Regions from separate parts of the Homo sapiens genome. Here all the other regions are linked to region 1. Evidence: promoter capture Hi-C in 16 types of primary human blood cells and fetal thymus (Javierre and others, 2016). All regions are on one chromosome and are shown on one strand. Each heading gives the region's core, a stretch centred on a gene start or on the middle of the fragment in contact. The rest is flanking DNA. Distances are from core to core; before and after follow the strand shown.

Region 1 (5,835 bases), core at 1,195-3,694:
CCTCCCACCTCAGCCTCCTAAAGTGCTGGGATTACAGGAATTACTGTCTTGCAATCTTCACTCACTTTAGTCATGAGATTATTAGGGGACAGTAGAAAACAGGTAAGTGGAAAGGTCACTGGTCCTATGAACAAGTACTATAGACAGCTCCCACTCTGATGTGATTTGAAGGATGTTACAAAGTTATTCAAAACTATTTTTGTTACAAGCTTGTCAGAGAGCCAGTGAAAAACTTCCCCTCTAGGTTGTTAAGTGAAACAACACCTTGATTATTTAATATATTCGGATGACTTATGTTTATTCTTCCCTTTAGTGCTCATTGTAACTTTGAACAGTTGTTTAAATACTGCTAGTTGATACTGCAATCTGTGTCATTTCAATCCCACACTCACAATTCCCCTACCCGGCCCTAATTGTTATATTTTCCAGAGCAGGAATAACCTTCTAACATGCTGGTTGAGTATATTTCTTTATTATGTCTATAGTCTGCGCCCTACTCCCCATCAACACAGGATAGGGATCTTTATTTTGTTCACTGGTGTATCTAAAGTACCTACAAAAGTGTCTGGTACATAATAGACACTCAATAAGTATTTGTCGAATGACTAGCTCTGCTGAAATGAGGGATTAGTCCTCTTTTTAGGATAACTCATTCTAATTCACAAAATGAAAATTTTACAATATCAACAGAGGCCATTTACTACCTTTCCTGAGGATAAAAATAGTATACTTTTTCTGGCAACCAATTATTACTTTCTTGCCTTTTCTTTTTATTTTTTTTTTGTTTGTTTGTTTGTTTTTGAGACAGAGTCTCGTTCTGTCACCCAGGCTGGAGTGCAATGGCGCGATCTCGGCTCACTGCAACCTCCGCCTCCTGGGTTCAAGCGATCCTCCTGCCTCAGCCTCCTGAGTAGCTGGGACTACAGGTGCCCACCACTACGCCAGACTAATTTTTGTATTTTTAGTAGAGACAGGGTTTCACCATGTTACCCAGGCTAGTCTCGAACTCCTGCCCTCAAGTGATCCGCCCACCTCGGCCTCCCAAAGTGCTGGGATTACACGCATGAGCCACGGCGAGCCAAAGTACTTTTTTCCCTTAAGCCTGTTTGAGTTGGGTCTTCTGTCATCCAAGACTTTTTTTCAATAATACAGTCACCTTCTGTTTCCACACTTGTGGAAACTTAAAAAAAAAAAAAAAAAAACCGCGGCCGAGCGCGGTGGCTCACGCCTGTAATCCAAGCATTTTGGGAGGCCGAGGCGGGCGGATCACCTGAGGTCAGGAGCTGGAGACCAGCCTGGCCAACATGGCGAAACCTCGTCTCTACAAAAAAAATACAAAAATTAGCTGGGCGCAGTGGCGGGCGCCTGTAATCCCAGCCACTCAGGAGGCTGAGGCAGGAGAATCGCTTGAACCCAGGAGGCGGAGGTTGCAGCGAGCCGAGATCGCGCCATTGCACTACAGCTTGGGTGACAGAGTGAGACTCCGTCTCAAAAACAAAAGCAGAAACAAAAACCGCCCCATAGCCCAGCCGCTCGTTCTCATCCTTCTCTCCCATCCTCACCCCAGTGCCTTCACCGCCCCGTCCCCGCTTTCCGGCTGCCTCGGCGCGGGCCTGGTGGGCCAGGAGGGCTCCCACCCGGGGCAAAGCCTCAAGACGCGGGGCCGGCGTTCTCCCTGGAAGGCTCGCTGCGGCCACCCTTCCCCAGGTCCCCGGAGCCCACGTTCTCCCAGCTCGCCCGGCTCCCGTTTCGCTCCCAGCTCCAGTATGAACCCGGAGCACGTGCAGTTCTACCCTGATTGGCTCGTCATCATCGTGTTCCACAGCCTAGTCCCCAGCTCGCTGTCTGTCACCCTGCGTTCCCAGAGCACAGAACCGGGCAAAGAGCCGGGAACCCACGGCACCAGAGCTAATCCCTGATGAGTCACCGCTCCAGGCGCGGACACTCGGGCTTCCTCGCCCCACTCTACGGGCCAAGGAGACGTCAGCAGGATCCCACCTCCCACAGCAGTCGAGCAAGAGAGCACGCGGAACAAAGGAGCTCTGCGTGATTTCACACAAGAGCCACTCGGATTTCCTTCAAATCTGAGGCAAAGCGCATTTCCCTTCGCGGCTCCGGGCAGCCTCCGAGCACCGGGTCTCCGGCACTACCTCCCCTGGGCCGTGGGGTGGCAGCAAACGTCAAGGGGGATGCGCATGCTCTGTGTGGGGCCTCGCCCTTCGCCCCCGCGGCCGCCGAGTGACGGAAGCGCGTGCTTAGGCTCATGGGAAATGTGGTTTCTAAACCGCGGGCGCCCCCTGCCTGGGCCCAGAGCGGGACTTCAGCTCCCGGCCGGCTGGCTGGCGCGTGTGGAAACGCGGGAGGAGAGGGCGGGGCGAGTGGGAGAAAAGGTGGGCGGAGCCGGTGGGAAGGCCAGGCGGAGGGGGCGGGGCTTCGGCCGGCTAAGCCGCGGCCACCCGCGGTCTGAGGGACCGGAGGAGCGGGGCCGGGAGCTGCGAGGAGCCCCCCAGACGTCGCCGAGCGCGAGGGCGGGCGTGCTCGGAGTGGTCGCTCGTCAGCCGCCGCCCCTCAGTCTCCGCACTTGCAGGTCCCCTCCCTCTCCGCCGGGACGCGGGAGAGCCCGGCTCGCGGCGGGGGCGGCCAATGCGAAACTGGCTGGTGCTGCTGTGCCCGTGTGTGCTCGGGGCCGCGCTGCACCTCTGGCTGCGGCTGCGCTCCCCGCCGCCCGCCTGCGCCTCCGGGGCCGGCCCTGCAGGTGAGGTCCTGGGGCCGGGCGGGTTGGCGGCCGCCGGGGGGGTGGGAGGCCCGGCTTGGTGCCGCGGGGCTTCGCCGGGAATTGTTGGAGGCGGGGGAAGGGCCAAACGCGACGGTCCCCAGACGAAACAAACGGCTCTTTTCATCCTTGGAGCGTTAACATCGGGCAAACTTGAGGGAGCTTTTCTCTTTTCGTGTCCCCGCCTCTTCTCACTTCCCCGTTTCCCTTAACGCCCGCAGAGCCGGCGCCCGCAGTTGCAAGTCCTTCGCCTGTCCCCAGGCCTGGTTAGTGATGTCCGACGCCGCCCGTTCGCCCGGGAGCGGAACCTCGTGTGCCCTTCAGCCGCCAGCGCTTTCTGCTTTGGGAGCTCTGGCTCTGAAGTTGTTTTCTTCCCCCCCAAGTTGTTGGTCTTTCTCGGTCAAGACTGGGGTTTTAGTGCCGTGGATAATGTGTGTGCGTGTTTTCAAAGGTGGCTCGGTTTTGCTTTTAAGGAATAACTTTGCTGTAAGAATATACTGTAGTTCGTATTCTTGGATTATGATGTAAGTCGGTTAAACAAATCTAGACATGAAATAGGGCATGGCCGAGAGTTGGAGTTGTTCCTGTGAGTTTGGATCGCATAACCTGCTAATGCAGTTTACATGGAAATATCAAATTCTTTAACGATCGTGTCCATTTGCTCTAAAACTTAATCTCTCGTAGGAATGAAACCTTTGTTCTTGTTTCGCGTCACAGCCTAATAGAATGCTTTACTTACGGTGCCCAGCGGATTGTTTTGTTAGTGGGTTCCACCACCCTGAACACTACTTTAGCTTTCCCTGTATCTCTTGTCTTCTTCTTTAAGGGCTTGCCCTAGAACATGAAAGAAACCTAGAAAGCTCTTTTAAATATTATGTAATACTTAATTTTGTAACTATACTGGGACTTTTTTCCCTTACCATCTCTCCCCAAAACAGCTGTTTTCTAATCCAAAAGTTCTTAAAATTAGAATTGAGTGTTTGCAGTTCAGCACTCTATGCCTTATAAGTAGAAAGTATTCGGCAATCCTCAAAACAGTCTCAGTTATATGAAATTATGTTGAGGTTATTTTGGTAACAATCTCTTTTCCTATTAGATCACTAGCTCTTTGAAAAGGATTTGTGTGACCTGAATAGAATTAAACACTATTTAAGTGATTTAATGAAAGTACAGTGTTGCTATGCACTTAACCAGTTGATGGGGTCAGGGTTTTGCTCAGTGTTTTTTAGGTTTTTGTGAAGTGAACTAAGAAGAGAACGCCATATATAAAAAATGCTTTGTAACAGCTGCTTGTGTGTTACAGGTTTCTCTCTTTTGTTATGAGTGAGCCCTGCTGGAATCTCCTTGTAGAGCGTCATTAAGTCTGTTTATGGCCTTAATGGTTGTTTAGGGTTCAGTAAAACAAACAAAAACTGAAATGTTAGTAGACTTCAAACTGAAATCTTAGTAGACTTGCTAGGCAGTTTTCTAGTTTGAGACAAGTTTTTCCTACTCCCTTACTGCACTTGAAGGATGATGCCTTTATCTGCCATCCAGTAGTTAGACCAGGCTAGATTAAGGAAATGAAGAAGTAGACCATAGAAAGGAACAGGGTAATAACGTAGGTAAGAAGATCAATACTAGTTATGTTAATTAACTTTGGCTTTGAATGAGTACTGTGTATCTGGTCAGATAATAAATGGGATTTTTTTTTAAGTTCCGGGATACGTGTGCAGGACGTGCAAGTTTGTTACATAGGTAAACGTGTGCCATGGTGGTTTGCTGCAGCTGTCAACCATCGATATTTTAATAATCTAAGTTAAACATGACTGGCCCGGCGCGGTGCCTCACGCCTGTAATCCCAACACTTTGGGAGGCCGTGGTGGGTGGATCACCTGAGGTCAGGAGTTCAAGACCAGCCTGGCCAACATGGCGAAACCCCGTCTCTACTAAAAATACAAAAATTAGCCGGGCATAGTGGTGCATGCCTGTAATCCCAGCTACTAAGGAGGCTGAGGCAGGAGAATCACTTGAACCTCGGAGGCGGAGGTTGCAGTGAGACGAGATTGCGCCACTGCACTCCAGCCTGGGTGACAAGAGCGAAAGTCCATCTCAAAATAATTAATTAATTAATTAAACAAGACTGACTCCTACCTTTCCTTTTTTCCTTTTGGTACTTTCAAAGCTAAAAGCAGTGGAAGCATCTTAAATGCTAAAATTTCCCATAATTCCTTTACCATTGTGCTGTCACCATGTTGAAACTAAAATAGTTGGGTGTTTTTACATTTTAACCCTTGTACTTTAAGCCTAACAGGAGAAAAAAAAACCCAAGATTTTGCTAAGTATTCTTTTCTTGAATTAACATTTTTAAATGTATTTTTTTTTCTCTTCTGCTGCTTTGTCTGTCTTCAGTCTCATTAAGTAATGGCAGTTTCTTTGTTTTTTTTGAAAGAGCGATTTACCTTCCCTGAATATTAAAAAAGGTTCTTTGGCTCGCAGTTGATTCAGCAAATATTTGAGAGCCTACTCTGTGCCAGCTCCTATCGTAGGTGTGGAATTACAGCAGTAATCAAGCTAAACTTCCTGCCCTCATGTAGTTTACAATTTAGAAGGGAAGACAGAGCATCAGGAAATAATTATAAATATCACAGCGGTAGTGATAAGTATAGGGAAAAAAGATAAAGCAGTGTTAAGAGATTAAAGAGATGGTTTTAAATAGGTCAGGGAAGTCCATTCCATTCTGAAGAGGTAACAGTTGAGCAGGGACCAGAATGAAGTAAGTGAGTCACCTTAGTACCAGAGTCAGCAACTTTTTTAATGTGATAGGTTCCCTTAAACCAGTCAGGGAAAGCAACTGGTAAAGAGGAAGTGAAATCCAGTACACCTGAGGGTGACAGAGGAAAATGCAGGTGGAGATAACCATCGGACTAAGGAATCTAAACATAGGATATCTTGATTACAAAATGCTCGTTTTGGGTAATGCCTTAAGTAGGAATTATTTAACGGTTAATTTAGAAAAATGATGTGACAAAAGAAGGCTTCGCTTTCTAGGGTATCTGGAAAGAAAGAAACCAAAACAAAGG
Region 2 (5,835 bases), core at 2,361-4,860, 230 kb before region 1:
GTGGTTCCAAGCAGCAATGGACTAAAATTCTGTGGTCTTGTAAGGAGACCTTCCGAATGCAGCTTGGGAGACTACTAGTGCATATTTTGTCGCCAGCCCACGCTGCACAAGAGAGAAAGCAAATTTTTGAAATAGTTCATGAACCAAATCATCAGGAAATACTACGAGACTGTCTCAGCCCATCCCTACAAGTAAGTATCTCAGCTTTGATAAGAGAAGTAAAACGTTTGGTGAAATACAAAGTCTGAATAAAACAAGAACTGAAATTAAACTGAATGTTCATGCCTAATTTATAAATATAATTTTCTTACCAAGCAAATTTAACCTAAGGTCTTTCTCAGGTGCTTTCACACAGGCTCAATTTAACCTCTGTGTTTATTTCCCAATCTTTTTTCTAGTGCCTAAATTAAGAAGTTCTGTTTCAGAGTTTCTGTCAGAAACTTTGTAATGTGTTAACACATCTTGAAGTGTTTTATTTAAGGATTGTTTGGAGGCTTTTTAAAAAAGCATTATATTACCTGTGAAACATCTATATTGAATAGCTCAAACAACAGTATATATAACATATCTCAAAAATATATGTGGTCAGTTAAAATAGATAAAAATTATTAATCATTTGGAATAATCAAACCCAAAATACCTAAAAGAATTTCAGAGTGTATAAAGTTTATCACTTCAAGAGTGGTAGTTGGAAAGTTTAAAAGGTACATTAAACCATATTGGAGGGCTGTTTAACAGTTTCTTAAAAAATTAAACATATATTTAACTTGTCACCATGTTACTCCATTTTTAGATATTTACCTGAAAAAGAAATTAAAACATATGTTCATAAAAAAGCTTGTTTAAGAATATCTATGTCAGCCTTTTTCATAATGGCCAAAAACTACAAATATTCAAATGCTTATCAACAGAAGAATGTACAAACACATTGTGATTTCTTTATACCTGTAGAGAGAAATCTGTATAGACTATTCTACAGCACCATATAGACTATTATACAGCTCTAAAAAGGAACAGACTACTGGTACATCTACCATTATGGATGAATCTCAGAAACATTGAGTGGGGAAAGGGACAGCCAAACACAAAGGAGTACAATCTGTGATTCTATTCATCTGAAGGAACAAGCAAAACCAAGATATGACGATAGAATTCAGGACAGTAGTTGTCTCTGTGGAAGGGGGACGGTGAGAAAGGGAATTGACTGGAAAGAGGTTTAAGGGAACTTTCTGGGGTGATAAAAATAAGGTCTTATTTTGAGTAGTGGTTAAATGGATGTATGCAATTGTCAAAACTCATAGAAACACTTAATATATCTATGCTTTATTATATGTAAGTTATACCTCAATAGAGATGAGAGAGGATATATTAAAAAGGATAGGTATCCCCTTTAATACATGGAAAACACATATCATATTAGGAGTCAAAACTATCTGGAAGGAATACTTTTAGGTGCTTTTTCCAGTATTAAGACACTTTCAAGTACACTGAGGGCACTGTCTTCCTTTTCCCAAGACAGAAGCATATTTAGCCTGTATTTTCCTTCTGTGGAGAATTTGAAATGGTGTTTTTTTCTTTCCTTTATACTCAGCAAAGTTGCTATCCATCAAAATTCAACTGCGGTGTTAACAGTCCACTTTTTCTCATACCATCTTCCCTTTCCCACTACTTCGTGTCTGTCAGTGGTATCATTATTGAATTTCAGCTTGAAATTTTTAACTGTGGTTGTCGTTGACTTTTTCTTCTCTTTCTCAATCCATTTCGTCACCAAGGCCAGTTGTTTATTCACCCACGAAGACTGAGGATATTATCTTTAACCTAATAGTTTTAGCAGCCACTGATGATAATTGCCAAGATCCACTTTTTCATTAAAGAGTTACAAAATAGTGATTTCTCTAAGTCTCTCATTCCATCAGCATCTATAAGCTCTGACTTTACTATAGGGAAGAACTTTCCCTTGTCAACTATTTGACTACGTTTTTTTTTTTTTCTATTTTTTTTTTTCACTGTTCAAGGTTTATTGTGGGTTTTAGTTAGTATGACACTTGGATAGTTGGTTGCATTGTTTATATGTAGATCTCTTTACATAATATGGTAATGTACACTACTGATATATATAGTTCACAAAATAAGATCCTTTGGAACAATTATGCACCATACATGCAATATTGGATTTATATACTGGATCCAGGATGTGACTGATTGGGAAAAAATGTTGGACTAGACATGTTCAATGAAGGAGCCAGGAAGTTATTTATATAACACACGGTAAACATCCATCTGGCTCAAGGGCCAACTGCAGCATGTGCAGCATTGGCAGTGGTGCCTTAGAGGTGTCAGAACTATTTCACACAAACCAGTTTAGGACTACACAAGATTAGTACCATCCAGCCTACAGAATGGTACTACAAGTTATAGCTACCTACAGGATATAGTACCTACAGAATATACTGTAGGATTTTACAAACCATTCCTATTTCTAACCTTAGGAATTGATGTTTTTCCCAATCCATCTTAACATCACTGCTTTAATCACAGATCAGATAAAAAGGACAATATGCACAACCTCCAACTAAAATCCTATTGTAGCCTAGACAGTGAAATAGTATGACATCAGAAGACTTTAAAATTGCAGCTCTTTTTGTATCCCCCAAAGTGGATCTGCACTGTTCTTCAAATGGGCCCCTTCCTCAGGAGTCAGAGTCACCTTCACACGGTCTGAGATTCCATTCTCTCCCAAGATGCAAGGAATGCTAAGGAAGACATCATCCTTTATTCCACCAATCATGGTGGAAATTGGGTGCACCCGCCTAAGATTCTTCATTATACTTTCTGCCAAATCTGCCACAGAGAGTCCAATGGCCCAGGATGTGTAGCCTTTGAGTTTGATCACCTCGTAAGCACTCTCAACCACCTGCTTGTGAACCTCTTTCCACTGTTCCTTATCTATGTCAGTCCCTAAATCTGGGTGCAGAGTCTTGAGGGAGACACCAGTAACATTTGCTTTACTCCATACAGGCACACTAGAATCTCCATGTTCCCCAAGGACTCACCCATGACAGCTTAATGTGTGAACTCCCAGCCTTTCCCCCATTGGGTAACGGAATTGGGCTGAGTCCAGATTGCAACCACTTCCAATAACATGGTTTTTGGGAAAGCCATTATCTTCCAAGCCACTATAGGTCAAAGATATCCACTGGATTTGAAACAATAAGCAACTTGCAGTTCGGGCTGTATTTTACAACATTAGGAATGATGAATTTAAAGATGTTCACATTACACTGGACCAAATTAAGATGGCTTTCTCCCTCTTGCGATGTGCCTCAGCCGTGATAGTGACCAGCTTGGAGTTTACAGTTACAGTATAGTCTTTGCCAGAGACAATCTTTGGTGTTCTAAGGAAAAGGCTGCCATGGTGGAGATCCATCATCTCGCCCTTCAATTTGTCTTCCATGACATCAACAAGAGCAAGTTCGCCTGCCAAGTCCTTCATTAAGATACCGATGGCACAGGCCATGCCAAGAGCACCAACCCCAACAACTGTAATCTTATTCTGGAGGATCTGTTCTTCCTTTAGAAGACTGTGAATAAGCTGATCCTTGAGCGTATACTTGAGAGTATATTGGACTTGGAAACAAAAGGAATCGAGAATGCACGTCCGGCGGGTGTTGGGGCACGCGGCAGTGAGATCCAGACTCGTCGGCAGCGGCTCCAGCACCTTCGCTACCTTTAAATACAGTCAGTCAAGGAAAAGCAGGATAAATGCTGTTTCCTTCCCTGTTTATTAATTTTTGGAATGATGAATTCATGCCCCTAGTAGCCTCTAATTCTTGTATTTGTTTTTATTTTTGGAGTGTCATTAGGAGCTCAGGTATTTTAAAATAAATGTTATGTGTTTTAGTCTATTGCAGTCATTATTCAGTTTGATATTAAAATTAACACCTCTGTAGATTCAAGTTGTTGTGTCGACATGGCCTTTTTCATTTTAACAAGTTAATATGATTAAACTTCCTTGTTTTCTGGCACAGAAGAATGTCCCAGGCCCACCTTATGCAATTCCTTCCCCAAACCTAGAACCTAACTTCCCTCCCAAGAAGACCTTATATCCTTTTAAGGAGATGATAGTATTTAGAGACTACAAATCTAAGGACTAGGTATGTTTATTTCTCCTGGGTTGTCATTTCTTCTCAGCCTTTTTTAGTGGACAAAGCTAGGAAATAAGTATTTTTTTAGAAAGACAAGTCATGAGTTTATACTTTCACTTTTTCTTGGATTCTTTTATTTGTATTTCTTACTAATGTTGATATCTTGGTTCCTAACATTAACATAATCACTTATTTGCCTTGTCTTTCTACATATATAACATTTTCAAAATAAGATGATCAACATGATCACTAATAACAATCCTGCTGAGTGCAGTTGAAGATGTCTTTGTGGTTCTTTTTTTCTTAGCATACTATTATGGTTATACAGTGAAAATACTGTATTATAAAAGCACTTAAAATAGTTTTCTTTATTTGGTCAGGCTGCCAACTTCAACCAATTAGATAGGTAGGTAGGCTTTTTTTTCCAGTTTGTTTTATAGTTTTTTGGGATTCCTTTGGGTTTTTGTTTGTTTGCTTAATTTTGTTTTTAATCATGTGAAATGTCTACATGGTTCTAAAAGCAACGTTGTGAAACAGCACATTCAGAGAGGTTCTAGCTTTTATCCCTTTCCGCTCCTCTTATTTTTTCCCTCTCTGTGTAGGTAACTGACTTTTTTTTTCTGTTGAAGATACAAGCAAATCTATGTATACATGTATTTACACATGTAAATATTCTGTCCCCTACTTCATAACACAAAGAAAGATAGCAAAGTATACACACTCTTCTGCACCTTACTTTCTTCACTTAGTATATCCTAGAGATCATTATTACATAGTAGTACAGAGTGATCTTCTTTATGCCTTTTCACAGCTGCATACATTTAATTTGTATTTCATTTGGAATGTGCCTGGATTTTTTAAGCCCCAGACTTCTTTGCCATTACAACTTGATTCTGATTAACTCTCCAGCCTGCTGACCCTCTTCTTTTCAAGATAATCATATCTTTGTGTCTTGCAACCTCTTCACATCCTGTTTATTTTTACAGTCATGCTGTTTTATTCATATTGTCCACCAGCACAGAACACCTCTCTCTCCTTTGTCTATCTATATCCTCATTCTATCCATTCATTTGGCCATGACCCAGATCACTCTATACCTTCTTTAAAACCTTTCTCCCTTTCTGTAGTCTACTCAGAACTCTTCCTTCTTAGAACCTTCTTTGAAAAGAAATATTTTACATATTTTAGCACTTTATTATTTTCTAAGGATTCATGTTTAACAGATTCAATTCCTTAAATCAGTTTTTTAAGGGCTGAAAATAAGAGTTTTTTGTTATCTATTCCCAGTGACACCTTTTATAGTCCCTGAAATGATCATCAGTAAGTGATCAGAGGGTATTAAAATGAGATATTAGAAACAACTTAAGCGTTTAAGAAAATCATGTGTTTCCTTTGATATTCACAATGAATAAAAACATTTCTGATAGTTTTTCAAGATAATTTTTGAATGTCATTGAATACCAAACTGAAATATTTTTAAAGTTATATCAAGATCATTACCTTTAAGACACACTTAGGAAAGTCTTTTAGTCATGTACCGTTTTTATTTATTTGCCAACTCTTTAGGCCTTTTACTCACAGAGCTTCTGTTCATTTTTCTCTTTTGGTCAGGTAGCAGCTGTCTCTGACTAATTTAAAATGTTGCATTAAAATGAGCTGTACTATTTTCACCATTGCATATGTTCATCTT
Region 3 (5,835 bases), core at 1,817-4,316, 190 kb before region 1:
ACTTTTTTTTTAATTTTAGAGTGTCGCTCTGTTGCCCAGGCTGGAGTGCAAAAGCACACTCTCAGCTAACTGCACCCTCCACCTCCCAGACTCAAGTGATCCTCCTCCCTCAGCTTCCCAAGTAGCTGGGACTACAGGTGCGTGCCACCATGCCTGGATAATTTTTATATTATCTGTGGAGATAGGGTTTCTCCATGTTGCCCAGGCTGGCCTCAAACTCCTGGACTCAAATGATTCACCCGCCTTGGCCTCCCAGAGTGCTGGGATTACAGTGAGCCACTGTGTCTGGCCCATGTAAACGTTTTTGTGGTATCTTTATAATGGTTAATGCATAAAAATGAGTCAGACTGGCTGGGCACAGTGGCTCATGCCTGTAATCCCAGCACTTTGGGAGGCTGAGGCGGGCAGATCGCCTGAGGTCAGGAGTTCAAGACCAGCCTGGCCAACACGGGGAAAACCCATCTCTACTAAAAATACAAAAAAAATTAGCCAGGCATGGTGGCACATTCCTGTAATTCCAGCTACTCAGGAGGCTGAGGCAGGAGAATCGCTTGAACCCAGGAGGCAGAGGTTGCAGTGAGCCAAGATCACGCCATTGCATTCCAGCCTGGGTGACAAGAGCGAGACTCCATCTTAAAAAAAAAAGAGTCAGACTGATAGCAGCTAGGTTGGTTGGTTGGTTGGTTGGTTGGTTTGTTATGAGATGAAGTCTCGCTCCATCGCCCAGGCTGGAGTACAGTGGTGTGATCTGTGCCCACTGCAACCTCCGCCTCCCGGATTCAAGCAATTCTCCTGCCTCAGCTTCCGAAGTAGCTGGGACTACAGGCATGTGCCACCACACTTGGCTAATTTTTGTATTTTTAGTAGGGACGGGGTTTCACCATGTTAGCCAGGTTGGTCTCGAACTCCTGACCTCAGGTGATTCTCCCGCCTCAGCCTCCCAAAGTGCTGGGATTACATGCGTGAGCCACTGTGCCCAGCCAAGCAGCCAGTTTTTAATATCCTGCAATTTGTCCAGTCAAGAATCTGATGTTAGGCTGGGCATGGTGGCTCACGCCTGTAATCCTAGCACTTTGGGAGGCCAAGGTGCGGGGATCACCTGAGGTCAGGAGTTCGAGACCAGCCTGGCCAACATGGTGAAACCCTGCCTCTATGAAAAATGCAAAAATTAGCCACGCATGGTGGTGGGCACCTGTAAATCCCAGCTACTCGGGAGGCTGAGGCAGGAGAATCACTTGAACCTGGGAGGCAGAGGTTGCAGTGAGCTGAGATCGTGCCATTGCGCTCCAGCATCAGCAACCAGAGCAAAACTCCATCTCAAAAAAAAAAAAAAGAGAGAATCTGATGTTTATAGTACTTACAGACTTCCTAACTACCACTATTTGTGTCCCCCAAATTTGTTTTCTACCCATTTTCTCATTGAGAGAATATTATCAAAATCTCCTGCTCAACATCAGTGAAGGGCATAGTGTTTGAACCAAATCAGCATTGCCTTCTTCTCAGTGTTCACTCACCTTTGTCATTAGGTCATTTTCTGTAACCATAGTGCCATCTTTTATACCTGATTTTTCCTAAATGGACTGGTTATTCAGACATCATGTATAGTAGAAAGAACATTGGGCCTAAAGCCCTGTGATCTTTGTTAGTGTCCCAGCTTCGTTATATACTAACTGCAGCCTTTGACTAGTAACTTAATCTCTCCAAACTTGAGTTTCTTTCCTCCTCATTACAACCAAGATAATAGTACTCACACTTCTTTCTCAGAAAGCTGCTGTAAAATGTTTCCAGTGTTTGTGAAAGAAACTTGTAAACTGTAGCCAGGCGCGGTGGCTCAAGCCTGTTATCCCAGCGCTTTGGGAGGCCGAGGCGGGCGGATCACAAGGTCAGGAGATCGAGACCATCCTGGCTAACACAGTGAAACCCCGTCTCTACTAAAAATACAAAAAAAATTAGCTGGGCGTGGTGGCGGGCGCCTGTAGTCCCAGCTACTCGGGAGGCTGAGGCAGGAGAATGGCGTGAACCCGGGAGGCGGAGCTTGCAGTGAGCCAAGATTGCACCACTGCACTCCAGCCTGGGCAACAGAACGAGACTCTGTCTCAAGGGAAAAAAAAAAAAAAGAAACTTGTAAACTGTAAAATACCATGTAAATATACAGTATGCTGCTGCAACCGTTCCAGACTGTAAATCGTATGGACAGCCTTCTTTTTTGACTCTCTTTCCATGGGAAGTTCTCTTACCATTCATCCTCTGATTTCCATTACCTGCATAACACCTGCTGCCTTATCATGTGTCCTAAAATGTATCCCATTCCCTGAGCTCTTTAGAAATGGAGGAAGCTACTTAGGGGAATGTTTAGCAGTGAAAGCAAGAGGAGCAGTGCCTTGTTTGCATAACCCTCAATATCCCTGACCAAAATATTGCCACCATTTGTTATATAGCTTACCAGGAAACTGACAGAAGTAAGAATAAAGAGACAGTGAAAAACAACTTTACTAGGAACTTTAATAAGATTTTTTTTTTAGTTTTGAAACATCAGGCTGCATTAACCAGAGCCTTTGTATGCAGATAGAAATATATATATCCAAACACAAACAAGTTATAACCATAAATCATGGCAAAGCTTGTAGTATAACTAAATTGGAAATGAGTCTACAAAATAAATGAAAACACAAAAACATATTATAGAATCAGTATGTCCCTTACTGCACCCTTTTTGGGATTATTATAAATTGGGAAAAACAGACAAATATGTACAGTGGGAGTTAGATATACAATACATTCTACCTGTCAAAATACACTGACACAAATTTATGAGCAGATTTAACTCATTGCTGTCATCAGTAATCTGTATTTACAAACATCTTGACTTTCCAATGAAAAGTGAAGAAAAATGAAATCATCATCAGTATTAATTGAATGTTTTCAACGCAATGTTAAAGATATAACATAAGCTTTCAATCAAATTCTTTACACCTTTAATTACTAGGCATTCCTTCTATTTAAGAGTTGGGTACTGTTACATTAGATTGATGTGGTGTGAAGAGAGGACAAAGATGAACAAATAACTTTAAAGATGCTTTCCGATTCACTAATTTATTTTCACCAGTACAAAGACAAGCATTTAGTCAAATTGTTTTTGCCAAGTAAATTGACTTGTTAGTTTAGCAGATCCAAAGCTTGAATAAAGTTGTTTAAAATTCTTATTTTTATTTTTTTCTAGCTTTATTGGGATAAAATTGACAAATAAAATTGTATATATTTAAGGTATACAATGTGATGTTTTAATACATGTATATATACATTGTGAAATGATTACTACAGTCAGGCTAATTAACACATTCGTCACCTCACATAGTTAGCATTTTTTACGTGTGTGATGAGAATATTTAAGATCTACTATCTTAGCAAATTTCAAGAATACAACACAGTATTATTAACAGTAGTCACCATCCTCTACGTTAGATCTCCAGAACGTAATCATCCTGCACAACTGAAACCTGTACCCTTTGACCACCATCTCTCCATTCCACACACATTACCAGCACTCTCAGCCCCTGGCTACTGCTACTCTACTCTCTGTAGTTCAGCTTTTTTTAGATTCCACATAGGAGCAGGATCATACAGTATTTGTCTTTCTGTGCCTGGCAGATTTTACTTAATACAGTGTCCCCCAGGGTCATTTGTGTTATCACAAATAACAGGATTTCCATCTTTTTAAAGGCTGAATAATATTTCATGTATATAAAAGAATTTAAACATTGCAAAATTATTTGTATCATAATAGATGAAAATAAAGATGAAAGAACACTATCACAAGTCCTGTTAGCAAAACAAGATGTGATGACATTGTGTGATACTTTGAGTCAAATGACTAAACTGGATGAGAATACTATATTGCATTTTCATCTAGAGATACATTTCTAAAGATATATTTTTGTTCACCCATTAATTCTTTGATTTGAGAAAATTCAGCTAGGATATTATTGTTGTTGTTGTTGTTGTTGTTATTATTATTATTATTATTATTATTATTATTATTATTATTATTTGAGACGGAGTCTCACTCTGTTGCCAGGCTGGAGTGCAGTGGTGCGATCTCGGCTCACTGCAACCTCCCCCTCCTGGGTTCAAGCGATTCTCCTGCCTCACCGTCCCTAGTACCTGGGACTACAGGTGCGTGCCACCACACCCAGCTAATTTTTTTGTATGTTTAGTAGAGACGGGGTTTCACCATGTTAGCCAGGATGGTCTCGATCTCCTGACCTCATGATCCGCCCGCCTCGGCCTCCCAAAGTGCTGGGTTACAGGCATGAGCCACTGTGCCCAGCCAGGATTTTGTTATATAAAGACTCACGCTCTGAGATTTCACTTATATGATCAATTTCATCATCATCAGTAGAGTCTAGAGTCCTGACGGCTGTGTGCCTTCATGTTGTGATTAGTCTCATAATTGTGAAACATCTTCCTCTGTCAGCTTTCTTGGTAGAAAATGAAAAATTCTGAATTCTCCACCGTGTTCAATGAAAGCCAAAAGTAGACTACAGAAGTGGTGTCTCCAGCCTTCTTTTATACTTTCCTGAAAGATGACACTATACTTTGGACAATGCAATAAGAAAACCAAAAGATGACGATTTAGTTCACATATTAGATTATCCTCTTGGGAGATTCCATCATTCTCCCATTTCCTTGCTTGTTTGTTTGTTTTTTGCGTATTTAGGAATAATTGATGAGTAGTGATGAAATAATTTTTAGAATGATGAAATCGCTAAATGTTTCAGGATATAGAAAAACAAGTTAGTTATTAAGATCTTGTAATGTAACTTAGGTTGATTCACTGGATCCATGTGGTAATTCCAAGACAGAATGAGTTTTATTCTGTGTATTTTTTAAAAGTGCATTTTCTCTTTGTTCTTTGGAAGACCTCCAAGAAAGAATAAAATTTATGAAGTATCAATCCTAACAAATAGAACTACTCAAGAAAGAAACTGAAAACATAAAATTGGATCCAATGGATCCTTATGGTATAACGGGAGTTAAGAAGAATAAAGATCAGAGAAAGTCATTTTCTAAGGTAGCAGAGACGTGAACACACTTGTAGTGCAAGGGGGGAAGCCAGCAAGAGACAGCTTGAAACTGTAAGAAAAAGAAAACAAGGTTTCTGAGGAAGCCTGAGGATGAGGCAAGGCTGACCTTGAAAGCAGACATTTCTTTCTCTGAATCAGAAGACAGGGAAACATGTTGAGGTGCAGAGGAGAGGAGAGGAAGAGGTGTGCAGCTGGGGGTCTCCATCTGCTTAGTGAAGTGAGTGTGGGGGAGGTGGGACAGGAGAGCAGTTGGGGACAGTTGCTGCGGACATGGTGCTCAGGGTGGGGGTCAGCTAGCATGGAAAAGAGGACCTGTCAGGCCACATAGAAAATTGACTCAAACCTGAGTGGTGCCTCCATGGTTAGGACTGAGGGATTTTGTACCAAAGGCATAATCCCATCTTTTACATTCACATTTATCTTCTTTCTTCCCCTGCTTAACAATCTTTAGAACTATTAGAAGCAATACCTCTGTTTACATGTACCTGTTTCCCCACCAAAGACATAAAACGAGGAAAATAAAAGCAAAAAGCAAATAAATATGTGAAGTACACATACATTCACACTCAACCTTGGATTTAATCAATCCTGAATCATTTTGTTAAATTTATCTAAATATATATACACATATATCCACACACAGGCACGTATAGACATAGACTATGCATTATAATATATTTTAATTTGGAAACAACATTTAGACATTTGGCTCAAAGTTACGGAATATTACTATATCTGACACGTTTCTGTT
Region 4 (5,835 bases), core at 1,073-3,572, 160 kb before region 1:
ATTTTTAGGACTTGATAATTGCTTTCTTTGAGAAGCAAATTATTCAGTAGGTGCCTCTGTACCAAATATTTTATGGAATATCTAAATACTAAAATAAACTATGAATGAATCTCAAAATTAGGCAGTTTTTGCCAGTTGCTTTCTTAGCTCAAAGGAGAACCAGAATTTTTTTGACAGCCACAAACAAGAATACAGGTATCTTGGATTTCAGACACATTCTGTTTCTTCATAAAAATTTTACTTAAAATCTGTAACGCTAGATATTGACTATCCTTAGTTGAGTCACTGAGGTTTAAACACAATGGTAAGTCTTAAAGTCTGCTATTTACAGAGCATTGAATCTGTACCAATTTGCAATAGAAAGCCTTCAGTATGCAAGAAGTTTGCATGGGTATTAAGAACACAGCCTAAATAAGGCATTTGATCTAATCTGCAGGAAGAATTTTCTTCCCCAAAACAGAATTATAAAAGCTTACTTTAAACAGGAGGCAGAATAATTCTTTTAGGAAACCATTTCATTCTGTTTCTACTAACCTATACCATCTGAGAATTCTAGGAAGAATAATAAAATCTCGTGTATTCCACAGCAAACTTACATACCATAAAGACAGAATTCCTAAACATCTTGGAGCCGTCTGTCTCTCCCATATGATGGCTGTCTGTATATTTTTACTTGGGGTGCTGCTTTATTGGCTTTGAAAACACTGTCAGATAAGCTCAGTAATATGTTACCATGGGATAAAAATATGTATCCCTGCCTAAGAATAACTTGTGCATTTGTTATGGAAATTTAATTCATATGGTGTTTACAGTACTACTTTTGTAACTTCCAGACTTTCTAAAACATTCTGCTTAAAAACCATATAAAATATAATTCCAAAGTCTCTGCTGTCAAGATAGATTCGAGAGAAAGCACGTGGCCATGTATGCTTTAACCTTAAACTGCATACACATGTAGTGATACCTAGGCTGCATTTAGATCACCGTGTGCTCAGGCCAGGTGTGAATCCTGAGGTCCATGGAGGTGCAGAGATGAGATTACTCCTATTCACGTTGAAGTGATTTGCTTTGTTAACAAAAAATTGCAGCTATTGTCTAGCTTTCATTTTTTTACTGAGAACTTTAAATTAGTCCCCTATTAGAATAGGGTTGCTACTCATCTTTTTTTAAAAACCGAATTTCATCATTTATCTAAAGAGAAAATATGCAGAATAACTGGTCTTGTTAAGAGTGCAATATTATATTTTTATGTAAAAATAAAAATTAATTTGGGGGGATTATTTATTCAGCATGAAACCTAATATGTATATGTTTGAAATACTTCATAATGTGCATGTTGTAGCAAACATTTCTGTAAATTATCACAAGCTCTGTTACCTTTATATACACTGCCTCTTCAATTTGGAAATAAATTTCATAAAAATAGATGTAAACACCTCTTCTTTAAGCTATTTAAATATTATGAGCAGATCTCAAATCGATGGCTTTCTGTGTAACCCACATAGGTTCTGTCTTTAGCTCCACTATGCATTTATATCACTAGAAAAAGATAACTTTCTTTTTTTTTTTTTTTTTTGAGATGTAGTTTAGCTCTGTCGCCCAGGCTGGAGTGCAGTGGCACGATCTCAGCTCACTGCAACCTCCGCCTCCCAGGTTCAAGCGATTCTCCAGCCTCAGCCTTCCAAGTAGCTGGGACTACAGGAGTGTGCCACGACGCCCGGCTAACTTTTTTTTTTTTTTTTTTTTTTTTTGTATTTTTAGTAGAGACGGGGCTTCACCGTGTTAGCCAGGATGGTCTCAATCTCCTGACCTCGTGATCCACCTGCCTTGGCCTCCCAAAGTGCTGGGATTACAGGTGTGAGCCACCACGCCCGGCCTAACTTTCATTTCTTATTGTGGTTTTTGTACTAAAATTTTATGTTTCAACCTTTACTACCCTTAGATGGTGTGGACACTAGTCCCAAGATCAAACCGCTCATTTTAAAGAAAAAACCATCTGCCCACCCCCGACCCCACAGCAGATCTATATTGAGCCCTTGCCAGGTGCCAGGCACTGTACCAAGTGCTGAGGATATCGTGCTGCACAAAGCACGGTGGTCCCCTGCACTCCTGGAGGTTACAGGCTGGTGGAGAAACCACCATAAATAACACACAATATGTACAGTTACAAACCATGGTAAGTGTTAGGTAAAATATAGGGTACTCTGAAAGAATGTAAGAGGAAGGACTTTATTTAGATTGAGGTGATCTAGAAAGCCTCTTGAAAAATTGAAATTTTTGGTGAGGCGTGGTGGCTCATGCCTGTAATCCCAGCACTTTGGGAGGGTGAGGTAGGCAGATCACTTGAGATCAGGAGTTAGAGACCAGCCTGGCCAACATGATGAAACCCCATCTCTACTAAAAATACAAAAATTAGCAAGGCATGGTGGTAGGCGCCTGTAGTCCCAGCTACTTGGGAGGCTAAGGCAGGATAATTGCTTGAACCTGGGAGGCAGAGGTTGCAGTGACTGAGATTTTGACACTGCACTCCAGCCTGGGCAACAGAACGAGACTCCGTCTCAAAAAAGAAAAATTGAAATTTCTGTTGAAACCCAATGAATGATCGGAAATTTGGTGAAGATGGGGGCAGATGTGTTCCAGATAATACATGTTCAATAACTGGGGCAGGAACATCAGCAAAGGCCCAGGGAAGGAAAGAACATCCTGTCCCTGTCTCAGCTTCTTGGTGGGTGAGGGTGGGAGTGAAAACGGTGGGTGACGTCAACAACAGCAGTCCAAGGGCCCGAGGGCTGCCCTTCTTTCTGCTTTGCATCTGTGGTATTTTAAGATTCTCAAGACTACAGCATTCCTGTTCCTAGGTGTCTGTCCCAAAGAGAACTGAGCAGTAGCATTTTGTCGGTGTGAGCCTGCCAACCCAGATGTCCCCTCTTTACCTGAAAGTCTCAGTTGGACTCACCCTTTCCACAATGTTCACTGAACGCCAGTTCTGTGCAAGCCCGAGGCTAGAGGCTGGGTGGGGAAGGGAGGGGAGCGGGATTCTTTCCAGCTCGAAAGAGCTCATGCAGCGGGCGCAGTGGCTCATGCCTGTAGTCCCAGCACTTTGGGAGGCTGAGGTGGGCGGATCATGAGCTCAGGGGCTCCAGGCTAGCCTGGCCAACATTGTGAAACCCCATCTCTACTAAAAAATACAAAAATTAGGCAGGCGTGGTGGCACGGGCCTGTCATCCCAGCTACTGGGGAGGCTGAGGCATGAGAATCGCTTGAACCCAGGAGGCAGAGGTTGCAGTGAGCACTGCACTCCAGCCTGGGCGACAGAGCAAGACTCAGTCTCAAAAAAAAAAAACAATTAAAAAAAAAAAGAGCTCATGCCTGGTGACCTGCTTCTCACTATTTTGGATGACGTGTTTATGTTCTGAGGGGAAAAGCAAAAAAAAAAAGCTACAAGGCCGATTTTTTTTTTTTTTTTTTTGAGATAGAGTTTTACTTTTGTTTTCCAGGCTGGAGTGCAAGGGTGCAATCTCGGCTCACTGCAACCTCCGCCTCCCAGGTTCAAGTGAGTCTCTTGCCTCAGCCTCCCCAGTAGCTGGGAATACGGGCGCCTGCAGCCTCGCCCAGCTAATGTTGTATTTTTAGTAGAGACGAGGTTTCACCATGTGGGCCAGGCTGGTCTCAAACTCCTGACCTCAGGTGATCCACCTGCCTCGGCCTCCCAAAGTGCTGGGATTACAGGCGTGAGCCACTGCACCTGGCAAGGCCAACGTATATAAAAATGAGAGGAAACAAACTCAACGAGTGAACATTTTTTATCAGTAATTGCAGAACAATGGGAGTTCTTGGATTATGCATGTTGCAGGCCCTCTTTGCTGATTATCCTTCAGGTGTCCCCAGTTTGTCCCAAACTGTCTCACATCTTGGTCAGCTATATTATTTTTTCATTGTACTCCTTCTCAGGATAACACTCCATGTACTATGAAGCCAAAGCACTTTAAAACCTAATGAGCTTAAAACCTTGAAGCAGAAAGACCAACTGAAAAGCATTAGCAGTTGGAGGGTAGATGGGAAGGAAACAAAACAACTGCTACTGGAGAGAACAATTCACCACTGAGGTCAAAGGTAGCAAAAGAGCTTGTAGGTTGAGCACAAACTGGTATTGTGGAGTATTGCAAAAGCTTCATGTTGCATGCAGGATTTCCCCCAGTCGTTTTCAACTGCACAATTAAGGCAGCTACATTTGCCGATACCAAACATATACACGTATATGCACATTGAGTTGAGAAAGAGGTGCCACCTATATCATGTGTCATGTGACAACAGAAAACTATATCTTGCCACTTTGGGGACACTGGGTTGCAACTCAGCTGTTTGAGAGAAATTAAATAATACAGTGTGTCCTTTGAGGCCAAAATGACTAGAAGATCATTTGAGACTAGGCTACAATATTCCTGCTCAAGAGCTGAGTTCGTTTCTTCCTTCATGAAGGAAGTTAATGAGAGATGAGTTTGAAAAAGGTTGTCTCGTGGCAAAGTTTGGCTCATTGCCAAAGTAAAGTAAACAGGTCTTACCAAAACTTCTGAAGACTGATGATAATGAACTGGTGTTTCATTCTCAGATTTTAATTTTGTTAAAATAGCTGTAAAAGTCCTTGGAATCCAGTTCCAAGGGTAAATAAAAAAGACTGTCTTTTCTGAGACTTTTAGTAAAAATTAAGCTATAATTTTCATAGTGGTTGATATAATCTAAATACAAATGAGTAATTAGGTAACTTCATTATGTAGTTTCTATACACAATTTTCTGCACAGTAGTAGTTTATTACAACCAAGTAAAAGCCACTTACCTGTGCTCCTACGTGGATATGAATTAGACATGCTATTTTATTTTCTACAACGGTCTGGAGAACAGGGTTAGGAGGTAAAAGGTCTCACAGCCTGAGGTGGAGACTAGAAGAACAGCTGTTTCCACCACCCTTTCCACCATGTGCATTTTTAGACCCAAGCATTGTTTGTTCTCTGTTCCCTGCTGCAGGCATTTCAAAGCCAGCTTCAGCCCCGCCTCACGGATACATGTGCTCAGTGGTGCTGCTCACTGCTTTATGTTTAACTGGTAGTCTCTGCCACTGTGTTCTCCTGAACTTTAAATTTCCTCAGTTATTACAACCAATTATTCGGTATATACTTTGTGTTGGACAATCTTTCTCTTGTGAACATCTATGAGTTTCGAAAACAAAAATCATCAGAGCTGAATCTGAGAAATAGAACTGTTTTCGTCACAAACAAGTTACAGTTACGAGGTACTGAAAAAAAATGTGTGATTCTGCAAGTAATTCCAAAAGAGGAATTTTTTTAAGATTTTGAGCAATGCATAGTATCACTGGAGTAGGGTAGATTAGGTACTTGGGAGAAACGAAGGAAGAAAGCAAGCAAGCGTCACAGGACGGACGGACAGGTACCATGTCTTACTGTTTCTTTTCTTGATTTTTTGTTTGTTTGTTTGTTTGTTTGTTTCAGACAGAGTCTTGCTCTGTTGCCCAGCCTGGAGTGCAGTGGCGTGATCTTGGCTCACTGCAACCTCCACCTCCCGGGTTCAAGAGATTCTCCTGCCTCAGCCTCCCAAGTAGCTGGGATTACAGGTGCGTGCCACCATGCCTGGATAATTTTTGTATTTTTAGTAGAGATAGGGTTTCACCATATGGGTCAGGCTGGTCTCGAACTTCTGACCTCAGGTGATCTGCCCGCCTTGGCCTCCCAAAGTGCTGGGATAGAGGCATGAGCCACCGTGCCCGTCCTTCTTGATCATTTTTAAAAAAACTTCCCAACCCCAAATAAACTACCAAGTCC

Evidence for each region. The method cuts DNA at HindIII sites, captures the fragments that hold promoters and counts their contacts. A CHiCAGO score of 5 or more calls a contact.
Region 2: a fragment that was not itself captured here is called in contact with the fragment with the promoter of B3GALNT2 in region 1 in 3 of 17 cell types (erythroblasts, activated CD4 T cells and megakaryocytes); the score reaches 6.8 in erythroblasts.
Region 3: a contact is called between a fragment that was not itself captured here and the fragment with the promoter of B3GALNT2 in region 1, in 1 of 17 cell types (M1 macrophages). The highest score is 6.1, in M1 macrophages.
Region 4: a fragment that was not itself captured here is called in contact with the fragment with the promoter of B3GALNT2 in region 1 in 1 of 17 cell types (M2 macrophages); the score reaches 6.5 in M2 macrophages.

What each region holds. Positions count from the first base shown.
Region 1 is chr1:235,501,061-235,506,895 of GRCh38, reverse strand. It overlaps B3GALNT2 (beta-1,3-N-acetylgalactosaminyltransferase 2), which reads left to right and starts at 2,444. Exons shown (of 12, transcript NM_152490.5): 1 at 2,444-2,755. The coding sequence starts at 2,644. RefSeq lists enhancers at 1,846-1,965, 1,666-2,342 and a silencer at 2,276-2,915. The HindIII fragment of the contact is 19,953 bases long and covers 1-5,835 here.
Region 2 is chr1:235,735,778-235,741,612 of GRCh38, reverse strand. It overlaps LYST (lysosomal trafficking regulator), which reads left to right. Exons shown (of 53, transcript NM_000081.4): 31 at 1-191. It also overlaps the pseudogene LDHAP2. Among named protein-coding and RNA genes, the nearest start is that of GNG4, 89 kb to the right of the region's middle. The HindIII fragment of the contact is 5,542 bases long and covers 840-5,835 here.
Region 3 is chr1:235,687,198-235,693,032 of GRCh38, reverse strand. All of the region lies in intron 47 of LYST (lysosomal trafficking regulator), which reads left to right. Among named protein-coding and RNA genes, the nearest start is that of GNG4, 40 kb to the right of the region's middle. The HindIII fragment of the contact is 225 bases long and covers 2,954-3,178 here.
Region 4 is chr1:235,656,631-235,662,465 of GRCh38, reverse strand. LYST (lysosomal trafficking regulator) reads left to right here. Exons shown (of 53, transcript NM_000081.4): 53 at 1-1,425. Among named protein-coding and RNA genes, the nearest start is that of GNG4, 9.8 kb to the right of the region's middle. The HindIII fragment of the contact is 3,698 bases long and covers 474-4,171 here.